Linked DNA regions of Homo sapiens: all the other regions are linked to region 1. Evidence: promoter capture Hi-C in human tissues and cell types (Jung and others, 2019). All regions are on one chromosome and are shown on one strand. Each heading gives the region's core, a stretch centred on a gene start or on the middle of the fragment in contact. The rest is flanking DNA. Distances are from core to core; before and after follow the strand shown. Region 1 overlaps SPATS2 (spermatogenesis associated serine rich 2). Region 2 holds the start of NCKAP5L (NCK associated protein 5 like). Region 3 holds the start of PRKAG1 (protein kinase AMP-activated non-catalytic subunit gamma 1).

The links. Contacts are between HindIII fragments. The study calls those that stand out against the background at their distance.
Region 2: a contact is called between the fragment with the promoter of NCKAP5L here and a fragment that was not itself captured in region 1, in 1 of the 25 tissues and cell types used here (dorsolateral prefrontal cortex).
Region 3: the fragment with the promoter of PRKAG1 here is called in contact with a fragment that was not itself captured in region 1 in 1 of the 25 tissues and cell types used here (dorsolateral prefrontal cortex).

Annotation. Positions count from the first base shown.
Region 1 is chr12:49,367,807-49,370,660 of GRCh38, forward strand. All of the region lies in intron 1 of SPATS2 (spermatogenesis associated serine rich 2), which reads left to right. Among named protein-coding and RNA genes, the nearest start is that of SPATS2, 1.8 kb to the left of the region's middle. RefSeq lists an enhancer at 2,032-2,171. The HindIII fragment of the contact is 3,639 bases long and covers 1-2,854 here.
Region 2 is chr12:49,826,975-49,829,828 of GRCh38, forward strand. It overlaps NCKAP5L (NCK associated protein 5 like), which reads right to left and starts at 1,439. Exons shown (of 13, transcript NM_001037806.4): 1 at 1,348-1,439. BCDIN3D-AS1 (BCDIN3D antisense RNA 1) reads left to right here and starts at 1,569. Exons shown (of 3, transcript NR_027501.1): 1 at 1,569-1,770; 2 at 1,961-2,109. RefSeq lists enhancers at 848-897, 1,313-1,891, 1,892-2,470 and a silencer at 1,158-1,567. The HindIII fragment of the contact is 7,341 bases long and covers 1-2,854 here.
Region 3 is chr12:49,017,382-49,020,235 of GRCh38, forward strand. PRKAG1 (protein kinase AMP-activated non-catalytic subunit gamma 1) reads right to left here and starts at 1,395. Exons shown (of 12, transcript NM_002733.5): 1 at 1,351-1,395. The coding sequence starts at 1,359. It overlaps KMT2D (lysine methyltransferase 2D), which reads right to left. Exons shown (of 55, transcript NM_003482.4): 55 at 1,597-2,854. It overlaps DDN-AS1 (DDN and PRKAG1 antisense RNA 1), which reads left to right. Exons shown (of 2, transcript NR_147179.1): 2 at 855-1,859. RefSeq lists enhancers at 436-1,026, 1,599-1,798. The HindIII fragment of the contact is 13,264 bases long and covers 1-2,854 here.

The sequences.
Region 1 (2,854 bases), core at 263-2,762:
TCCAGACGGATAGGCCGGGGAAACAATGGAGTGTGGGGGGGACTCTGGCGTGAGCGTGTGTGGGGTATTGGATTTTAAGAAACAACGAGCGAGATAGAACGAAAGAATAGGATCATTTGGGATGAGAAGTACAATGAATTAGGAATGCAGTAGGGATGCGTAAGGTCACCTCCGTGGCTGTGCGAGGTCCTTAGCATTCGGGGGCAATAATGAGATTTGAAAATAAGGGAGAGAAGGGCGTTCTTGGAATTGAAGGGGGAGACGAAATGGAAAATCAGGCGAACAGACGCAGAGACATAAAATAGATGTGGTTAGGACTTGGATTAAAGCAGAAAGGTAGATTCAGTCAGTTTTGGACTACAGTGATATTTTTCTCATAATTCATCCAGAATGATTAGGTTCTTTTAGAAAGTGGATCTTTCTCAAGCTTGTCCCTCTGTTAAGGAGTACAAGCCGTTCTTTAAATAATTTGATTATCGCTTGTCCATTTTATTGATAAAACATGCCTGTGATATTTACTTCCCCTCTGTTTAGCAGGCTACTGTTCCTAATTTACCTACGGTTAATGAAGCAGGAGAGGACAGATCACCAAAAATATCTTGCTTTAAGTTAGGTCAGTGATAATGCAGATTTCAGTGTTTTGGAGAGAACCAAAAGCTTGGTTGTTTGTTTTCAGTTTGACCAAAAGGTGATGGATAAAATTAAGTTACCTGTACTTTGTTAGAATTGCAATTTCTCACTGAGAAATGTTCTTGTGCCATCTGCTACTGGTTTTGTGTTTGTGGGAGAGAGTTGGGGTTCTGCCTTAAATTATTTCTTGATGTTAACTTCAAATAGGCTGCCTCATACCTTCCAGTTTCAATTAAGGTGATTTGGGAATATTGATTATGATGTTTGCATTTCCTTAATATTTGGATTTCCAGACCAAATTTGTGATTGTACTAGATAGAAAATTGCCGATTTTGAAATTGTAATGACCATTGTGTGCTCCTAAGTAGTCCATGTTAAGCCTTTTATTTGTTGGGCATTAAGTTTTGCTGACTCATCTAAGATTTATGGACATTAATCAGTTTGTATTTCTCAGCTAGGTCTTGGATGGTAGCATTTAGGTTACTTTACAAAGGTCCAAAAATAATGATTTAAATTGTTACTTTTCTTAGATGTTATGAAAATTGAACAAAGCAAGAAATGAGTGCAGTGTTCTCATTAGTGACAATGTGCCTCTTTTTTTTTTTTTTTTTTTTTTTGAGATGGAGTCTTGCTCTGTTGCCCAGGCTAGAGTGCAGTGGCGTGATCTCGGCTCACTGCAACCTCCATCTCCCGGGTTCAAGCGACCCCAGCCTCCCAAGTAGCTGGAATTACAGGTGCCCGCCAGCACGCCTGGCTAATTTTTGTATTTTTAGTAGAGACGGGGGTTTCACCATCTTGGCCAGGCTGGTCTCGAACTCTTGACCTCTTGATCCATCTGACTTGGCCTCCCAAAGTGTTGGGATTACAGGCGTGAGCCACCGCAGCCTAATGTGCCTCTTTTTTAATTGACCTCTTTCAGTGGGCTAGCCAAGGTGCTAAGATTTTTTTGTATGTATTATCTCATTCAATCCTCACAATTATTTCATATTTTGTAAATTAAGAGGTTAAATAATTTACTAAGGTCACAGAGCTAGTAAATAACAAAGCTTTATTCAGACCTAGCTGTATCGGATGCCTTTTTTAAAATCTTCACTACCTGTTTGCTCTTTCTGCTTCACCCTCATCTTGGTTATAGTAAAGCAGCATGAACTGGTTGAAACTTGGGTCTGATAACTGTGATTTAGATGAAGATTAAGTTAGTAGGCTGTAGCCTACTCTGTGGAGTTCATTGAAGGTTTACTGCTCCTGTGATTTAACAAAGGTCTGGGATCCTGATAAATAGGGCTAAAAACATCTTTTTGCTTAGGATTTGTCCTGCGACCACACTTAGTTTTCTGTTTAGTCTTATACTGCTGAGGTACTGTGCATACGTGGCACTCTTACTTGTAGAAGTCAAGACAGCCAGTTGTGGAGCCAAACCAATTAACTCTGGAAAACAATTGAAAACTGCTCAGTACTCAGGTGCCCTTGAGCCCACAATTGGTACTAGCATTACCTCTAAATATAGATAGGATCCTTTTAGAAACCAGGAGTGAAACAACTAGAACTGAGGGAAACAGCTGGGGCCTGAGGGAGGAGCCACAGGTTATGGCCAAAACATGAGCATAGCCCCTGGAGGCCGATCAGGCTAAGACAGGAGGGAATTTTCGTTTGTTGAGCATTTATGTATTCCAGGCGCTGAACTCAGTGTACATTATTACCTTATCTGTTAGTTGTAAGTATTATCCTTATTTTTCAGATGAGGCTCAGAAGGGCTAAAAGTAACTTACACAAAGTCACTTTATAATGGCAGTGAAGAAAATTTGTGTATACTATTCTAAAAATTGCTGCTTTCAGTTTCCCATTGTAGGGTCACCATATTAAAACTGGGAACTAAAAGTCACTCTTTCAGATATACCTGGCTTCTCATGTGTGTAACTGATTATTTCAGTCTTGCTGCTTTCATTGGAAACTGGAAGGAAAAGCTTGTATTTTTTGGATGTAATTGTTAGGAAGTACAGTCCATTCATTATATTACCAAATGACCTGTAGAATATAATTCAGCTTCCTCAGTTGCTTAGTGTATATCTGCAGCAACATGAAAATAGCATGTCCATCCCTTCTTTTCTGGGATCTTCACTTTCAACGAAGTCATCTAGACTCTGGAGGATGACAGTGAAGCTTGCCTGTTACAGACTCTTCCACTTTTCTCAATATGTTTGACAGTTGTTCTTGGTTATTTATT
Region 2 (2,854 bases), core at 189-2,688, 460 kb after region 1:
GGAATACACACGGTTTCTTTGGGATAGGAAACCCACTAATCCCAGGTTGTTTTTAGGAAGATGGGGGGACCAATTTGAGAAGTGAATTTTCCTATCACACAAGGAGTCTCAGAGAGCCAGATGGCGTAATGTCTGCAAGGGAGGGTCTGCAACAAGGCAAATGGGCTATGTTCATTTTCCCCGAAAGTACTGACCACAAAACGGTAAGGCATTGACACTCTTTCTACTGCTCCCCAGGCCACCCCTGCCCGGGCCACTTCCTCTGGCTGACCATTGTGCTTAAGAAGGAGGACCCATGACAGACGCGGAGAAGTGGGAGGGAGGGATTGCCTCTACAGCCAGAGAACTCCTTAGCCCAAGACCCCCAGCTCCTCAGCAAGGCAGGCCTTTAAGAAGTAGCAGCTGGACAGACTAAGTGGACTCAGCTGATCCAGCCCTGGGATGCCTGGAAAACCAGGCCTGTGGGAGGTGAGGGCCCTCTGTGCCCTTGGGGCCGTGCCAGGACTGGAGATAACGCGGGACCTTGGGCCCAGGACAGGGAGAGGGGAGCTAGGATCCGGGCAGCCGCTTTCTTAGTTGGGCTAAGCCAGGGAAGCGTCGGGCACAGATGAATTCTCTGCATTCTTCTGGCACCGCAGCCAGCACCCAGAGGGCCTTTTCTGCAGACGCTGCCCTGTCCCTGCTCCCTGCCCAACCAACCCTTCTCCCTCCCTTAGCTTCTCTTCAGCGTGCAGCCCACCAGGTCCTTCCTCCTTCCCGCAGCCCCTCAAAGCCTTTGAAGGGGCTGTTCTCTAGGAGACCCGGTCTTTCCGCCTCTCCCCGCCTTCCCCAGGCCCTACCGCCCCAGGCCACGGGGAATGGGAAGGAGTGCGAAAGGGAGCCCCAGGCTCGTCTCCGCGCCTGCGCTTTGGGGAGAGAGCCCCTCCCCCCGCAATAACCCGGCACCGCTAAGCGGCACCCGGACGGTGGGATGCGGGTTGGGTGGGGTGAGCAGCTGGGGCAAGGTCAGTGCTTTCAAAGAGGGAGGGGAGCCCGGCCCCCGGAACATCCCCCACTCCCGAAAGTTTCCCTTCCGGGGCCACGGAGTGTGCGCGAGGATGGCGCGGGGGGCGGGAGGGGGTGGGGTGGGGGTGCACAGAGTCGCAGCCGGACCCCCGAGGAGGGTGCGGCTGGAGGGAGGGACGGAGGGGCGGGCAGCAGGGTTTGGGCAGGAAGCCGCGACGCCCTCTCCGACTCTGTACTGCCACGAGAGCCTTACCCTCCACACCCCACTCCCCCCGGCCCGGAGCTACAGATCGCCCCCCCGCACTCGCCGCCCTTTCAATCCCAAGTAGACCCAGAACTCACCGAAATCAGGTGTTGAGCTGGGCCAGGGCAGGCCGGATCCGCCAGGTCCATGGCCGCGGCTTGGGGGCGGGGGGCAGAGAAAGGGGGGTGCCGGAGCCGCCTCCTGATGTCAAGGCTTTAAAGGGGCCGGGGAGCCCCGCCCCTGGCCCTGACCCCGCCTCCCTCCTCCCTAGCAGCCAATCCACGTTCAGCCTGGATGCGCGCCCCTCCCAGCCCCCTCCAGATGTTCCCAGGACGCGAGCTAAGTCTGCCCGGCCGGCGCGCGCCGCTTCCGCTTTGGTGGGAAGGACCTCCCTTCCCCCTTATAGAAACACTTTCTCCAGGCCGGGCCGGGCTTGGTAAACCTCAGCCGTGCCTGGGTAGAGGACGCCGGGCTGGGCCGAGCGGGGGTGGAATGAGGGCGTCTAGAACAGAGAAAACTAAGTAGGTGCGCGCGGGCCCACAGGCATGCGCGTTTGCTTCTGTGGGGCTGGGCGTGCACGTGTATGTGTGGTTGTGAGCGTCGGTGTTTGTAATTTGCTTTTCTGCATACGTGTTGGGTGTAAATCCATGGGGGAAAGGCTTGAGTGCCTCTTTGGCCTTAAATGCTCCCGCCTCTCTCTTCCTTCTCCAGGATGGGGTCGTCCCCCCAGTAATCTGGAAAACAGTTACAGCAACAGGCTCCTCTCATCAGACGGCAGTGCTGGTCGTTTCCTCACTGGTTTGCGGGGAAGGCTGGGCAGAAAAAGGATGCAACCTTGTTCTCAACCACTTGCTATCTCGGTGAGGATGAGGAAAAGCAAACAGCCCATCCAGGCCCCTGCAGAGCCTCAGAGCTTCAATATCATTCCCATTAGTCCTTAATTAAACACCTATTTGCCCTTGCCTAAATACCGTATAACCCTCACAGCCTGCATTGTAGTGACTGCCCCAGAAATGTAGGTTCTCACCTGGGTTCTGCAGGGAAATACGAAGGAATCCCTAGGTACAGTCTCCGCCTACTTCATTAAAATTTCTTTTGTTGCGAGTATACAAAGGATGCAGCTTAGAGTATCATATTAGTCCAATAAAGGAACATAAAAAGTAAGGCAAGTTAGGGTGCTCAGATTGGCTAGGATTAAGAGTTCTTTTCTGAAGGAGGTTTATTTAAATACGGAATTTGAAGGGCAGAGAGAGCTTGAGTAGGGTCCAGGCAGGGTAAAGGCCACAAGGAGATTCAGATAGGAAAGAGCAAATTATCTGCGTGGGACCGTGAGCAGATCACCGTGGTACGTTGGGAAGTGGGAGAAATTAATGGAGGAGGTTTCTTATGGAGGAGAGCAGAATAAGGATATGGATGTGACAAGACATAAGATAAAGAAGTCATTTTGGGTTCTTGAGCATAGAGGTAGTTTGATGAAAAGAGTGCCCAAGGACAGCTATTACTGGAACCTAAAAGATGTCTTGATGGGTACCCCCACCAGCTTTCTCATTTTTTTGCTTAAAAAATATTTTATTCTTTTCTTTTCTCTGAGATGGAGTCTCACTC
Region 3 (2,854 bases), core at 145-2,644, 350 kb before region 1:
TTTTTGTTTCTGTCGAGACAGGCTTTCATCATGTTGCCCAGGCTGATGCTGAACTCCTGAGCTCAAGCAATCCACTTGCCTTGGCCTCCCAAAGTACTGGCATTACAGGCGTGAGCCACCACACCTGGCTGAGTTTTCTTTTTCCTCTTTTTAACTTCTACCCCAGAGCCTAATCCAGTACATAAAGTGTAAAGGCTAAATTAGAAAATCTATATAAAAATGCTTTGTAAACCATAATACATTTACAAGTAAGTAGAATATGACATGTCATTTTAAATTTAATGGAATTAGACTCCTTATTTTTGTTTAAGATTATCCTGATTAGTCAGAATTGGCTCCCTTGCCTGGGAGACCAACTGCGAATCATTTTAGTACTTTGGTCGGTTTTCTTTTTGAAAACCTGAAAGAAACAACCTCTCTGTGAGCAGAGAAACGGTGTGGCAAAGAATTACTCTGGGCATGTAATCCAAAGCAAAGTGAACCTGCAGTCCTTTCGTAACTACAGTAGCAGATGATAAAAACCAAGATGGAAAGAGTTACTCTGCCTGAAAGAAGACACATGGTTAAAAACTGTGGAGAGGGAAGTGTATGGGAGGGGTTACAGAGCGCTAGAAAAAGACTCCTGAGAGTGAGGGTGGGTGCAAACATGTAGCAGGCAACCCGCAGCATCTGTGGGAGGGTGACAGGGCCCTGCCACAATTGGTCAATGCCTGCTCGCCAAGAATGAGCTATGCCAAAACCCCTGCTTAGAGTCGCAGAGCGGGCCATGACCTAAAATTGTCCAGGGACACATCGGCCTCTAACACTGCAAGATTTCCTCTTTCAAGCAAACCTCAATTCTCGGTCTTATTAAGGGAATGTGACTTCACTGGACGCAGTATAAAGATCTTCAGATGTCCTCCTGCCGGGGATTGCAGGGATCACAGAAAGACCATCGAGGTCCAGGAGCTACCTGCAAGCGGAGATCCCTCTGGACGCCCCGTGCCTCACCCAGCAAAGCCGGCTCACAACCCTGCGCTCTCAAACCTCTAAAAGGGCTTGAGGTGCCAATAGGAAAGGAGGCCCGAGATTGCCACGGCATACGTGGGCCCCAAGGAGGGAGCCAGGAGTCACTGCCTGCTTGGGCTAAGGGTACCGCGTACGGAAAGGCGGCGGGGACGCGGCCCAGTTCCAGGAGATGCGCCCAACGAAGAAGCGGAGGAACAGGGTCACGGGATAGGGCAGACACCCGGCTGCTTTTTGTTTGCTAGACACCAGCGCCAGCCCCTGCCCGGCCCTCCCGGTCTCCTAAGGGTTGGGGGGGTGTCTTAGGCTCCACAGCGCCCCCGACCGCCCTCCTGCACTCCTCACCGTCTCCATTGCAAGAGGCGCCCGGCTTGGTTTCCTCGCTTTAGGAAACTCTCTTGGGGCAGGCCCCGCCCCACATCCGGTGCGGCGACGCCACTTCCGCCCACGTCATGGCAGTCGCCAGACTGGGGCGGAAGGCAAGGAACCCACCCTTCCGGCGGTGGCGGGCCTCGGTAACCGCCCTCCCCCGGGTCCTCGCGGACCGCACGGATCCGGCTGACGGCGAGGGTCATGGGACGGAGCCGCTTGTATTTAAAATGTTCTTTTTTTATTTGTCGTTTAAAAACAAACTTGGAAGAAGCAAAATCCAAAACTTGCCCTTTGCCTCTCGCAACATAAATATGTACAGTTCAGAATGATCGCTGATACAAAACATGCCAAGGACAGGGGCGCTGAGGGTGGAGGGAGAGAGGGCGCTTTAAAAAAGGGAACCATTTCATCCGTTGTTACGAAGGACCAACCTTGCTGTACAGGATACACACAACACAAAATAAAGTCTTCACGGGATTCACACTTGTCAGCGATTTATTTTTTAAAAAGGGGGAGGGTCCTGGAGGTGAGGGGAGAAGACTGTAAAGGGGAAAACTGAAAACTGAGTATGTGCGAGTGTAAACCAACCCAAAATACAAACACGGGGGCGGGGGGTGGGGTGGGGGATTCTGATGCAATTATACAGGCAGGGTACTTAAAAAAAAAACCAACCAAAATTCCAACCTTGTAGCTTGGGTCTGAGTTATAGTTTATATAAAAATTAAAAACTGTATAAGGTTTCTTCACTAAATTCTACAGGACTATCGGATACCTAGCATATGCTTACAAAGTCTGCCCCATCCCCTTTTCCCAATCCCAGGGCCCAAGCCCCAAACACAGCCTGACTCACGGGAGCCAATCTCCCCCTCCCTGTAGCCTAGACCTTCTGCTCTCGGAAAAGGAACATCCAAGGGCTGTGGCTTTGAGGGCAGCAGCCCAGTCTTCCTACTGTCTGATTTAATTACAGCGGTTCCTGTGGGAGTGGGGGCTGTTATTCTCTTAAACATTTGCAGCTTGAAACAGTTGAGGAAGCAGCTTTAAAAAAAAAAAATCTCCCTACCCCCAACAATCCACAACCCCCCAAATTCAAAACAAAACAAAAACAAACCTAAAATCACAACAGCGACCAAGCTCCCCCTCCAGCAGGCCCGCCCGTCCACCACCACCAAGCCCACCCCTACACTCCAGACATCTGATTCTTGAAAATATTAATTACAAAATGCCCTTTGCCCACAGCCCCTAGAAGAGAACTGCATATAAGCTTCATCTTCATCCCCACGGTTCCCTACCAGAGAGGGGTTTGGGGCCTCACCCACCCCTTACCTACTCCCACCCCCAGGAAGAGGTTCAACTGCAGCACAAGCTTGGGCAGAAAGGGGAAGGAAAGGGAGGCAAGGAACCCATCACCCTCTGGCTCCCCCTGGGGTCAGCTCTCTTTTGTGCGTTATAACATAGTCCAACTATACAACAGGGGGTG